2 separate regions of the Homo sapiens genome follow, and region 1 is linked to region 2. The links are contacts of gene promoters, found by promoter capture Hi-C in human tissues and cell types (Jung and others, 2019). All regions are on one chromosome and are shown on one strand. Each heading gives the region's core, a stretch centred on a gene start or on the middle of the fragment in contact. The rest is flanking DNA. Distances are from core to core; before and after follow the strand shown. Region 1 overlaps MBD5 (methyl-CpG binding domain protein 5). Region 2 holds the start of KIF5C (kinesin family member 5C).

The links. Contacts are between HindIII fragments. The study calls those that stand out against the background at their distance.
Region 1: a fragment that was not itself captured here is called in contact with the fragment with the promoter of KIF5C in region 2 in 1 of the 25 tissues and cell types used here (H1 embryonic stem cells).

Annotation. Positions count from the first base shown.
Region 1 is chr2:148,359,655-148,365,970 of GRCh38, forward strand. All of the region lies in intron 4 of MBD5 (methyl-CpG binding domain protein 5), which reads left to right. Among named protein-coding and RNA genes, the nearest start is that of EPC2, 280 kb to the right of the region's middle. RefSeq lists an enhancer at 2,399-2,937. The HindIII fragment of the contact is 8,189 bases long and covers 1-6,316 here.
Region 2 is chr2:148,872,355-148,878,475 of GRCh38, forward strand. It overlaps KIF5C (kinesin family member 5C), which reads left to right and starts at 2,873. Exons shown (of 26, transcript NM_004522.3): 1 at 2,873-3,389. The coding sequence starts at 3,264. It overlaps KIF5C-AS1 (KIF5C antisense RNA 1), which reads right to left. Exons shown (of 4, transcript XR_001739733.2): 3 at 4,658-4,988; 4 at 643-3,841. It also overlaps the pseudogene USP8P2. RefSeq lists a silencer at 2,697-3,166 and enhancers at 3,539-4,117, 4,118-4,697. The HindIII fragment of the contact is 19,635 bases long and covers 1-6,121 here.

The DNA of each region.
Region 1 (6,316 bases), core at 2,135-4,634, 510 kb before region 2:
TTGTTTATAGCCAGTTCTATAGATCTTTTTGATAATAGGAATAAACTCTTTATCAAAGCATGATCTCTATGAATCCTAGTCATTTAAATGTGGTTTTTCAATGTTACCCATTTTAATTGTTGTGCTGGCATATGTGACTGCTCTTTATGTATTGCTTTTCAAATAGATTAAGAAAAATTCACTGAAAAAGTTGTTTTCATTTCTGTCTCCCTTTAAAAGAAGTATACATATATAAAAGTTATATGTGGTAGCAGTTTTATTATAGATTATTAGGGACTCTCATTTTGCTGAGACACATATTTACTTCCTGTCCTTCACATAAAAACTTGGAAAAAGGGCAAGAAGAAATTTTAAATCCATAACTGAATAAATTCACTAGATTTCAAGGAAAATAATAAAATTATAGCAAAGATCATTTCAGGTTTCAAATATCTGTAACTGTATATTATTATGGCTGAAAGAAATTGCAAATGCAGTGTGCATTTTTCATAATCAAAATGTATTATAAACCCTCCATGTCTCTTTTATATAAATAAAAAGGATTATAATTTCAAATATCATTATTATCATATCTGTTTGCCTTTATTATAAGTGGAAGCTGTAGTTTCTGATTACCTCTAACTACTGCTGGATTTTTCCCTAAAGTGCATATATTTTTTGGATTAACAACACATTTATTTTTAGTATATGTTCTTTTTACCTGCTTCTGACCATTCAGTGTGCACATACACACACACATCTCAGAGAATAGGAAAAACAAAAGACATTTTATTAAGTAAATAATACTCTGCAAAGGTTTTATTTGGTTTACATAATAGATGAGAAGTTCCTTTTTGGGATACTGTCTTCTATTTTATGTAGGAATTATTTTTAAAACCATGATATCCTAGGATTTTTTAAAATGTATTTTGCATGTTATGATTTTCTGGTGGCTATACAGAAATCTTCCTGCTTTTTTTCCCCTATTCACAGTATTCAAAGTAGTCCATGTGACCTAGATATTGAAAATCTAGGTAGAGTGTGCTGCATTGCTGATATTTACTGTGAAACCTTAGAAACATTCTGGTACCACATGCTGGAATTACAGGGTGCACACTGTTTAATATTGCTGGTATTTTTGTGACAGTCTATATGATCATTTTTCTAAGCTGGCATTAAAATTGTTGAAAAATATTCAAAAACAAATAAAAAATAATGTTTTTATATTTCAGTTAAAATGCACATATAATCAATGTTCATTTTAAAATTTTAGCTCAGACTAGGTAAGTTTTATTATGAGTTTTCCCACCATTATTTACCTTGTATTTAGAATTATCATAATCTGCTAACTATAAAAATCTTCCCTCCGCTCCCCTCCTCTCCTTCCATGTTTTTATTGAGAAGAAAAATAAGAAAAAAAGTGCTGGGTTGGGGCCAGGCGTGGTGGCTCATGCCTATAATGCCAACACGTTGGGAGGCCGAGGCAGCCGGATCACAAGGTCAGGGGTTCAAAACCAGCCAGCCTGGCCAACATTGTGAAACCCAATCTCTACTAAAAATACAAAAATTAGCCAGGTGAGGTGGCACATGCCTGTAATCCTAGCTACTGGGGAGGCTGAGGGAGGAGAATCTCTTGAACCCAGGAGGTGAAAGTTGCAGTGAGCCAAGATTGCACAACTGCATTGCAGCCTGGGTGACAGAGTGAGACTCTGTCTCAAAAACACAAACAAAACAAAAAAAAAAACGTGTTGGATTTACAGATTTCTTTTCAGTACATATTCTTCTGAACATCAGTTGGGACACTGACTCCCCTGTTTTATTAGTATTTCCAAACAGAAATCTGTTGCAGAGCCATTTTTAAAAGGTAGGGTATATGTTGAATGACTGGCTTAACAATTTGTCCAATATTAACTAATGTAGCCTTTTGCAACATTGCCCAGGATCTAGGCTATGAAACAAGAAGGGCTCACATTATCTATATAGTCAGAGAAATAGGAACTTAACAATAGTTATTTTTAAAGACACGTTGCCAATCCCATAGTTTGGACAACAATCACTAGATGTTAATAAGAGCATCAAAATGGTGGTGGCTGCCAAGATGGCCAAATAGGAACAGCTCCGGTCTGCAGCTCCCAGCGAGATCAACGCAGAAGGCGGGTAATTTCTGTATTTCTAACTGAGGTACCCAGCTCATCTCATTGGAACTAGTTAGACAGTGAGTGCAGCCCTCCCGACTGGGGAAGCACAAGGGGTTGGGGAACTCCCTCCCCTAGCCAAGGGAAGACAGGAGAGACTGTGCCATGCGGAACAGTGCACTCGGGCCCAGATACTACGCTTTTCCCATGGTCTTTGCAACTGCAGATCAGGAGATTCCCTCGGGTGCCTACACCACCAGGGCCCTGGGTTTCAAGCACAAAACTGGGTGGCCATTTGGGCAAACACCGAGCTAGCTGCCGGAGTTTTTTTCATACCCCAGTGGCCCCTGGAATGCCAGCAAGACAGAACCATTCACTCTCCTGGAAAGGGGGCTGAAGCCAGGGAGCCAAGTGGTCTAGCTCAGCGGATCCCAGCCCCACAGAGCGCAGCAAGCTAAGATCCACTGGCTTGAAATTCTCAGGTCAGCACAGCAGCCTGAAGTGAACCTGAGATGGTGGAGCTTGGTGGGGGGAGGGGCATCCACCATTACTGAGGCTTCAGTAGGCGATTTTCCCCTCACAGTGTAAACAAGGCCATCAGGAAGTTCGAACTGGGCGGAGATCACTGCAGCTCAGCAAAGCCACTGTAGCCAGACTGCCTCTCTAGATCCCTCCTCTGTTGGCAGGGCATCTCTAAAAGAAAGGCAGCATCCCCAGTCAGGGACATATACATAAAACTCCCATCTCCCTGGGACAGAGCACCAGGGGAAAGGAACAGCTGTGTGCACAGCTTCAGCCAACTTAAAGGTTCCTTCCTACTGGCTCTGAAGAGAGCAGTGCATCTCCCGGCACAATGCTCGAGCTCCGCTAACTGACAGACTACCTCTTCAAGTGGGTCCCTGACCCCCGTGCCTCCTGACTGGGAGACACTTCCCAGCAGGGGTCGACAGACACCTCACACAGGAGAACTCCAGCTGGCATCTAGTGGGTGCTACTCTGGGACAAAGATTCCAGAGGAAGGAATAGGCAGCAGTCTTTGCTGTTCTTCAGCCTTTGCTGGTGATACCCAGGCAAACAGGGTCTGGAGTGGACCTCCAGCAAACTCCAGCAGACCTGCAGCAAAGGGGCCTGACTGTTACAAGGATAACTAGCAAACAGAAAGGAATAGCATCAACATCAACAAAAAGGAAATCCATTCAGAGACCCCATCTGAAGGTCACCAACACAAAGACCAAAGGTAGATAAATCAATGAAGATGAGGAAAAAACAGTGCAAAACGGCTGAAAATTCCAAAACCCAGAATGCCTCTTCTCCTCCAAGTGATCACAACTCCTTGCCAGCAAAGGAACAAAACTGGACAGAGAATGAGTTTAACGAATTGACAGAAGTAGGCTTCAGAAAGTGGGTAATAACACACTCCTCCGAGCTAAAGGAGCATATTCTAACCCAATGAAAGGAAGCTAAGAACCTTTTCTTTTTTTTGAGACAGAGTCTCACTCTGTCACCCAGGCTGGAGTGCAGTGGCGCAATCTTGGCTCACTGCCAGCTCCACCTCCTGGGTTCACACCATTCTCCTGCCTCAGCCTCCCGAGTAGCTGTGACTACAGGCGCCCGCCACCACGCCCGGCTAATTTTTTTGTATTTTTTGTAGAGACGGGGTTTCGCTGTGTTAGCCAGGATGGTCTCAATCTCCTGACCTCGTGATCCACCTACCTCGGCCTCCCAAAGTGCTGGGATTACAGGCATGAGCCACCACACGCAGCCTCTGAGAACCTTGAGAAAAGGTTAGACAAATTGCTAACTAAAATAACCAGTTAAGAAAAGACCTGTTCTGCAGCCTCTGCTGGTGATACCCAGGCAAACAGGGTCTGGAGTGGACCTCTATACCTGATGGAGCTGAAAAATACAGCATGAGAACTTCATGAAGCATACACAAGTATCAATAGCTGAATCAATCAAGCGGAAAAAAGGATATCAGAGATTGAAGATCAACTTAATGAAATAAAGTGTGAAGACTAGATTAGAGAAAAAAGAATGAAAAGGAACAAACAAACCCTCCAAGAAATATGGGACTATGTGAAAAGACCAAACCTGTGTTTGATTGGTGTACCTGAAAGTGACGGGGAGAATGGAACCAAGTTGGAAAACACTCTTCAGGATATTATTCAGGAGAACTTCCCCAACCTAGCAAGACGGGCCAACATTCAAATTCAGGAAATACAGAGAACGCCACAAAGATACTCCTCAAGAAGAGCAACCCAAGACACATAATCGACAGATTCGCCAAGGTTGAAATGAAGGAAAAAATATTAAGGGCAGAAGAGAGAAAGGTCAGGTTATCCACAAAGGGAATCCCATCAGGCTAACAGCAGATATCTCAGTAGAAACCCTACAAGCCAGAAAAGAGTGGGGGCCAATATTCAACATTCTTAAAGAAAAGAATTTTCAACCCAGAATTTCATATCCAGCCAAACAAAGCTTCATAAGCGAAGGATAAATAAAATCCTTTACAGACAAGCAAATGCTGAGAGATTTTGTCACCACCAGGCCTACCTTACAAGAGCTCCTGAAGGAAGCCCTAAATATGGAAAAGGAAAACTGGTACCAGCCACTGCAAAAACATACCAAATTGTAAAGACCATTGACATTATGAATAAACTGCATCAACTAACGGGCAAAATAACTAACTAGCATCATAATGACAGGATCAAATTCACACATAACAGTATTAACCTTTAATGTAAATGGGTTAAATGCCCCAATTAGACACAGGCTGGCAAATCGGACAAAGTGTCAAGACCCATTAGTGTGCTGTATTCAGGAGACCCATCTCACACGCAAAGACACACATAGGCTCAGAATAAAGGGATGGAGGAATATTTACCAAGCAAATGGAAAGCAATAAAAAGCAGGGGTTGCAATCCTAGTCTCTGGTAAAAGAGGGTTTAAACCAATAAAGATCAAAAAAGACAAAGAAGGGCTTTACATAATGGTAAAGGGATCAATGCAACAAGAAGAGCTAACTATCCTAAATATATATGCACCCAATAGGGGAGCACCCAGATTCATAAAGCAAGTTCTTAGAGACCCACAAAGAGACTTAAACTGCCACACAATAATAGTGAGAGACTTTCACACCCAAATGTCAATATTAGGTCAACAGGACAGAAAATTAACAAGGATATTCAGGACGTGAACTCAGCTCTGGACCAAGCAGACCTAATAGACATTTACAGAACTCTCCACCCCAAATCAACAGAATATACATTCTTCTCAGCACCACATCACACTTATTCTAAAATTGACCACATAATTGAAAGTAAAGCACTCCTCAGCAAATGCAAAAGAACAGAAATCTTAACAAACAAGTCTCTCAGACCACAGTGCAATCAAATTAGAACTCAGGATTACAAAACTCACTCAAAACCACACAAATACATGGAAACTAAACAACCTGCTCCTGAATAACTACTGGGTTAATAACAAAATTAACACAGAAATAAATAAGTTCTTTGAAACCAATGAGAACAAAGACACAACATACCAGAATCTCTGAGACACAGCCAAAGCAGTCTTAGAGGGACATTTATAGCACCAAATGCCCACAGGAGAAAGCAGGAAAGATCTAAAACCGACACCCTAACATCACAATTAAAAGGAGTAGAGAAGCAAGAGCAAACACATTCAAAAGCTAGCAGAAGACAAGAAATAAACAAGATCAGAGCAGAACTGAAGGAGATGAACCCTTCAAAAATTCAAGGAATTGAGGAGCTGATTTTTTGAAAAGATTAACAAAATACATAGACCACTAGCCAGACCAATAAAAAAGAAAAAGGAGAAGAATCAAATAGACACAATAAAAAATGATAAAGGGGCTATCACCACTGATCCCACCAAAATACAAACTGCTATCAGATAATACTATAAACCCCTCTATGCAAATAAACTAGAAAATATAGAGGAAATGGATAAATTCCTAGACACATGCACCCTCCCATGACTAAGCTAGGAAGAAGTCGAATCACTGAATAGACCAATAAAAAGTTCTGAAGTTGAGACAGTAATTAACACTCTACCAAAAAAAAAACCCCAGACCAGATGGATGCCCAGGTGAATTCTACCAGAAGTACAAAGAGGAGCTGGTACCATTCCTTCTGAAACTATTCCAAACAAAAGAAAAAGAGGGACTCCTCCCTAACTCA
Region 2 (6,121 bases), core at 1,623-4,122:
TTTTTATCCGTCATCATTGTGTATAGTTCCTTTGTTGTAATTGCTCCTTTCTCTTTGGTCTCACATTTTTTCACTCTTTTCACCATTGCTCTTTTGGGTTTTGTCTTTGGAATCCAATACATTCTCCAAAGAAACTTTAGCCAATGTGCCACCATCCTCTCTTCCTGTTTCCTGCCTTTTTTGTTGTAGTTGCTGTGCTTCCTTCTGCCTGTCCTTTTCCTCAAGTTATTTCCGGACTTCAGCTTCTTTATATCTTAGTTTAAGGCTCTCAGAGAGTCTTTCAGCTTCTTCAATGGCTTTTTTGATGTTTGCAGTTCCAAGTATTGAATGGACGTAATCCTCTTAGTGCTTATTTTCTCTGGTTTAACTTCTGTCTTCTTATTGAGGTCTTTTAGTGAAGAACTCAGGTAGAGTTCTTTAGGAACTAAAGCCACAGCAGGCATGGTGAATTATCTTTACTTTTCCACGTTCACGATAGATGCTATATTTCCTTAAAAGTAGTTTTTTCCGTGGCGTCGGGTGCGCTTCACTAACACCAGCCTTCTTGCCAAAGGCCCATCTCCCAAGAACTCGAGGGAGAATTAGCCTTGGCTACCAAGATGGAATCCAGCCCAGCTCATCATCCTTTGCCCATTTTTAAAATTTTTTTTTGGTTGTGAGTTATAGGTATTCTTTATATATTCTGTATATTAACTCCTTATCAGATGTATTATTTGCAAATTTTTTCCCATTTCATGAGCTGCCTTCTCACTCTGTTCATAGCATCCTTTGATGTGCAAAAGTTTTAATTTTGATGTAGTTAAATTTATCTGTTTTTTCTTCTGTTACCTATCTTTTTTTTTTTTTTCCCTGAGATGGAGACTCACTCTGTCGCCCAGGTTGGAGTGCAGAGGCACAATCCTGGCTCACTGCAATCTCTGCCTCCTGGGTTCAAGCGATTCTTCTGCCTCAGTCGCCAGATTAGCTGGAATTACAGGCACGTGCCACCATGCCTGGCTAATTTTTGTATTCTTAGTAGAGACCAGGTTTCACCAGGTTGGTCAGGCTGGTCTCAAACTCCTGACCTCAAGTGATCCACCCATCTCAGCCTCCCAAAGTGCTGGGATTAACATGCGTGAGCCACGGCGCCCGGCCTGTTACCTATCTTTTGGTGTCCCTTTTCAATTGTTTTGAATCCTACTTAGCCCATTTCCTATATTAAGCCTTCTCAGACAACACTGAGAACTTCATCCTCTGTACTCCCACTAGTTTCTAAGCTGCCTGAGGGCGATGACTTATTTTGCAACCTCCCTTCAAATGAGAGGCCCTACGTTATCTCCCTTGAAAAGGGTTCACTTAATAAATCTAAGTTTACAGAGTGACAGCAAATGCCATTTGCTCAGTTAATAGCTGATGAATGAACAGATGAACGAATGAATGATGACTGAACACAGTGACACACAGATACGTCTCTGTCCACTTGAGATAATCCTGACCTCCTCAGATAAACCAGTGTATGCAAGGTTCTGGGCATCTTCTGGTGGGCTCAGGGAAACTGAGAATTGGATTGTCCTCTCTAGTATATTATGAAGTTGATCATTTAAGATGATGGGTCTCTGAGCCAGAGCCTGAGAATTACTTAATTTAAAAACAGATGAGAAGGTGGCACCTGGGTCTTTTTAATCTACTTCCACTGCACATGAGGAGATGAAATAGAACTGGTACTACTTACAAGGGTTTATAAAAGTTGATTTTAGTAGGTCTGTCCTCTCAGCTAGGCAGAGAACACTTGTATTTTCAGGTATTACCCGAATTTAAGCAACAGATGTGTTCCTAAAATTAACTAACTTATTTGTTTTATGATCATTTGTTCAGCACCCAATAACATCTAACTTTCAAGAGCTTATCCTATATACATGTCAGGCACCGTGCTAGGTGCTTTAAAAGCATCTGTCTTTTAATTCCCCCAGAAATCACAAGATGATATTATTCCAATGACAGAGATGAGGAAACTGAGTCTTAAGGAAATTAAGACTTCTTAATTTCCTCCGCTCTTAATTTCCTCCGCCTGTTGGTCATACATCTAATAAGTGGCTGAGGTGGGATTCACACTCATGCATTGCTTCTTCCTAGGGTAGAATCCTTATTCAGTATGCTGCCCACTATGTGCTAGATGCTACAGACACAAAGATATCAAGCAGATATCACCACCCAAGTGCAGTGCTAGAGACAGGCACAGCAGATTAGGGGAACATCAAGGAGGGCCACCAACTCTTTATAGGTGTTTAGTGAGCTGGGAAAGTCTGAGGAAGGAGGGTTGAGCTAGGTCTTAGAGGAAAAGGAAGTTCTGGAAAAATAGAGTGGACACTCAGTTGTTCTGCCAGCCCGGCACCATGTCTGGGAATACCATCCCTCTTCTTTTGGGAACCTTCCCACCAAGGGATTCCTCCATAATCTTACAAAATCCCTGATTCTGGTTGATTGGTTTAGCACTAGATGCCAACCTAAACCAAGGCCAATCAAACCCAAACTCTGAACAGACATCCATCCTTATCTAGTGGTAGAAGTTGAAGGATGAAACCCAGGGGCTATTGGGAGCTGTTTCCCAAGTGATTTTCTTTTGGGATCAGGATGATCCAGACCCAGTTATCTAGAGATTTTAACCGGAAATATTGGATATGACCTCCATCCGGTTCCGGCTTGGGCAGCCAGACCGGACTTGCAGGCTCTTGGAGGTCGCATCCTGTCCTTCCCCCGGCAGGTAGAGTGACTACAAGTCCCGGGATGCGCAGCGCTCGGAGTCGGGCGGGGGCCGGGCGGACCTCTACGGTGACGTCACCGTCCCGGGGCGGGCCAGGGGAGGGCGGGGCGGAGGGGCGGGTCTCAAGGCGGCAGAGCGCGCTGGTGCTGATGCAGGATGGCTGAGCGCGCAGGAGCCCGGGAGGTCTGAGCCGGGCGAGGCTCGCTCCCTGCGCATCGCCTCCTCCGCCCGCCGCGTGGTCGCGGGCAGGTGGGCCGGGGGGCGCTGGGCAGGGGCGGGGCAGGGCCAGGGCAGGCCGGTCTGCAGCCGGAGGGGCCGGAGCGGAGAAGCTGCCCACCTTCCCGGGCTCGGAGCGGCCGGGGCTGCTCAGCCGGCCGGGCTCGCGATGACCTGCTGAGAAGCGTCGTCGGAGGCTGCAGGAGGCGGCCTAGCTGTGGGCGGTGCAGCTCGCGGCCTCCTCCCTCGTCGTTCCCGGCCCCGGCCCCCCACCCATCCCCGTGCCCCCTCCCTACCGCCGGCCGAGATGGCGGATCCAGCCGAATGCAGCATCAAAGTGATGTGCCGGTTCCGGCCCCTCAACGAAGCGGAGATCCTCCGCGGGGACAAATTCATCCCCAAATTTAAAGGCGATGAGACCGTGGTGATCGGGGTAAGTGGCTGGGGCGTCTGCCTTCCCTGCTGCTCCGCGCCGCAGCTGGGCGCCCCGACGCCCCAGACGCAGCGGAGGTGTTTAGGCCGCCCCCTCGGACATTCCCGCGGGGCTGGCCTCTCGGGTGGACCTGACCAGAGACCCCTCGCCCCGCGCACTATGGTTCCCTCCCGGGCGGGTGGAGAGGCGGCCGGGAGCGGCGGGCCGGGCGGGGGTGGCGGGGGTGGGGATGGGGGGCGAAGACGGGCTCGGCGCCGCCATTGTTCGCCGGGTGGGGGCCCGGGTGGGCCCATTGTTCCCCACGCTCGCCTCGCCGCGTGGGTAGTGTGTTCGGGTGACCCTCAAGCCGGGTGCCCAGGCCCCCTTTAAAGTGTGAGCTCTGCAACCCGCAAATGCTTCTGGGCATCAATCAATTCGATTTACCAAACGCCTTGCCTCTTCTTCTCACGACCCTAGCAAAAAAGAAAGAAAAAGGGGTACAGGAAAATTTCTAGTCGCGTCTCGGAGCTCCCGCGGCAGTGTAGACGCGGCTCCCCGCGGTGTTACACCTGGCTCCGCGCGCGGAAGGCGGAGGGTTGGGGGAGTACTGGTGGCCTCGGTGTCCCCTGGAGGCCTGGTGTGTCTCCCGCTTCCTCTCACGCCTGGCTGCCCTGGATGTGGAGTCCCGGCTTGATCCCTCCCCTCTGGGATGACCTCCCTCCCATGTCTGCAGACCCTCTGATGCGCCTCACGCTGGGTGGAGAGGAGGCTGTGTCCACATCTGTGGGGCGAGGGGGCTCAGAGCGCAGTAGCCCCCTGTGCCAAGAGCAGAAGTTACTTCGTGCGGCTCGGACCCCCCTCCCTCTCTATCTCCCTTCCCCACCTTTTCTCCCCCACCCCCTCCCCCTACTTAGCTCCCTCTCTGCAGCTGGGGCTGCTGGTAGGGGGAGGGAACACCAATGGATTGTAGTTCTTAAAGGAATCTGTCAGATGAAACAAACCAGCTCGGTCCCCCGCCCCTTCCCCGCCCGCTGTCCGTAGCGTGTGTGGCTGATGGTGCCCCCTTTGTATGCGAGCCGCGTGGGGAGGGACCGAGTTAATGGGAGCCTCCCGGTCCCCGCTGACACGTTCCTGGCAGCCTGCTCCAGGCTGCTGATGCAGCCTTCCCGTCCCCAGCATTGATTAAGTGATGTCATCCTGATCACTGAGCATGCTCCGACTAACCCCCTCCTCCCCTTCCTCCAGTGGCTGGTGTATTTAGGTCAAGTGATTGACAGGTGACAGTTTACCGAGGGTATTGCAGGAGTCCGCCTGGCCTTTCTCAAGCGCCAGAGGCCGACGTTTTCCAGCCCGGGCGGTCCCCAGCATCTTTGCCAAGGTTGTCTGCCGCAGTCGCAGCGAAGGGCCCTGGGGACCAGCAGGTGCCAGCTGTACCGTAAGGCGGGAGCTCTCCACGCTAGAGGAGCCTGGGCAAGGCTCTGGCCTCAGGGCTTTAACCTGTACCTGGCTTTAAAAGGCTGCTCCCTTTGACGACCTCTTCTCACCTCCCCATTTTCACAGTCATCAGGAACGTCTGACCTCCAAACGCTGTGTGGATGGGCGATCATTCTGCGAGCTGACCTATGAGGGCAGGAAAGCGGGGTTTTCTCTCTGTTTAGTGTTAAACTTGCAGAGAAGATATAAGCTACGATTATTGATGAGGAAGGAAATTCTGCAGTTAATGGCAGATAAGTGTTAGTGACATATACATAGGCAGTACCTGGGGCAGTTAGTGACTTATTTGGTTTACAGCTCTCAGCCAGTATCTGCCTACAGCCTGATCTGCTACTTTCTGAGCCAGGCTGTGGTTTAGATAGAGTGGGAGTTACTGGGGACATCTAGTCCCTGCCCCTTGGCTTGTAACAATTTTTAAACAAATAATTGTGCAGTACTGGAACATGTTCTGGCAACCCTATTTTTTTCCCAGAGGTTTTGAAGAGCCTGAAGAAGTTTTTCTTCTCCCCTCCTCCCTCCTCCCCCATCCCCTTTCCCCTCTCCCCTCTCCCTTCTCCTCCTCTTCTTCTTCCAGAACCAATGAAATGAAGTAATAAATCATCTTCCTTGACCTGTATGCAAGGCAGAGCTCCTTAATTTTAGAATTATCCTTCTTTAATATGACATTGCTATGAGTATATATTTCCTTATCTAAATAAACATATATTAGTGGCTAAACAAATTAAAACCAAGTCACCATATTAAATAAGAAGTTTAAATAAAAATCATAGATGTGAATATACACATTGCTTTTCAACCGTAAAGTAAGTTTTGCTCATCCTACTATAATCCTTTAATACAACAGTTTTCAGTTTTTCTAAGGTAAACTTTTTATTGAAATGAAGCATTCATATAGAAAACTGTTATCATAAGTATACAGTTGGATGACTTTTCATAAAGTAAATGCTCCCTGTAACCACCTCACAGACTAAGAAACAGACATTTTGGGACCCTAGAAATCCCCCTTGTGGCCCTTCCAGTCCCTAAATCCCCCTGCTTCAGGGTAACCATGATTCTCACTTCTGATGCTATTAGTTTTGCTTGTTTCTTTTTAACTTTATATTACATAAAACCATAGAGTATGTTCTCTTTTGTGTGTGGTTTCTTGGGATTAAGTGTTATGCTTGTCAAATTCATCCTCATTGTTTTGTAGTATTCCATGATATGAATATACTACAATTTGTCTACTGACTGTTGATGGATATTTGGATAGTTTCCGG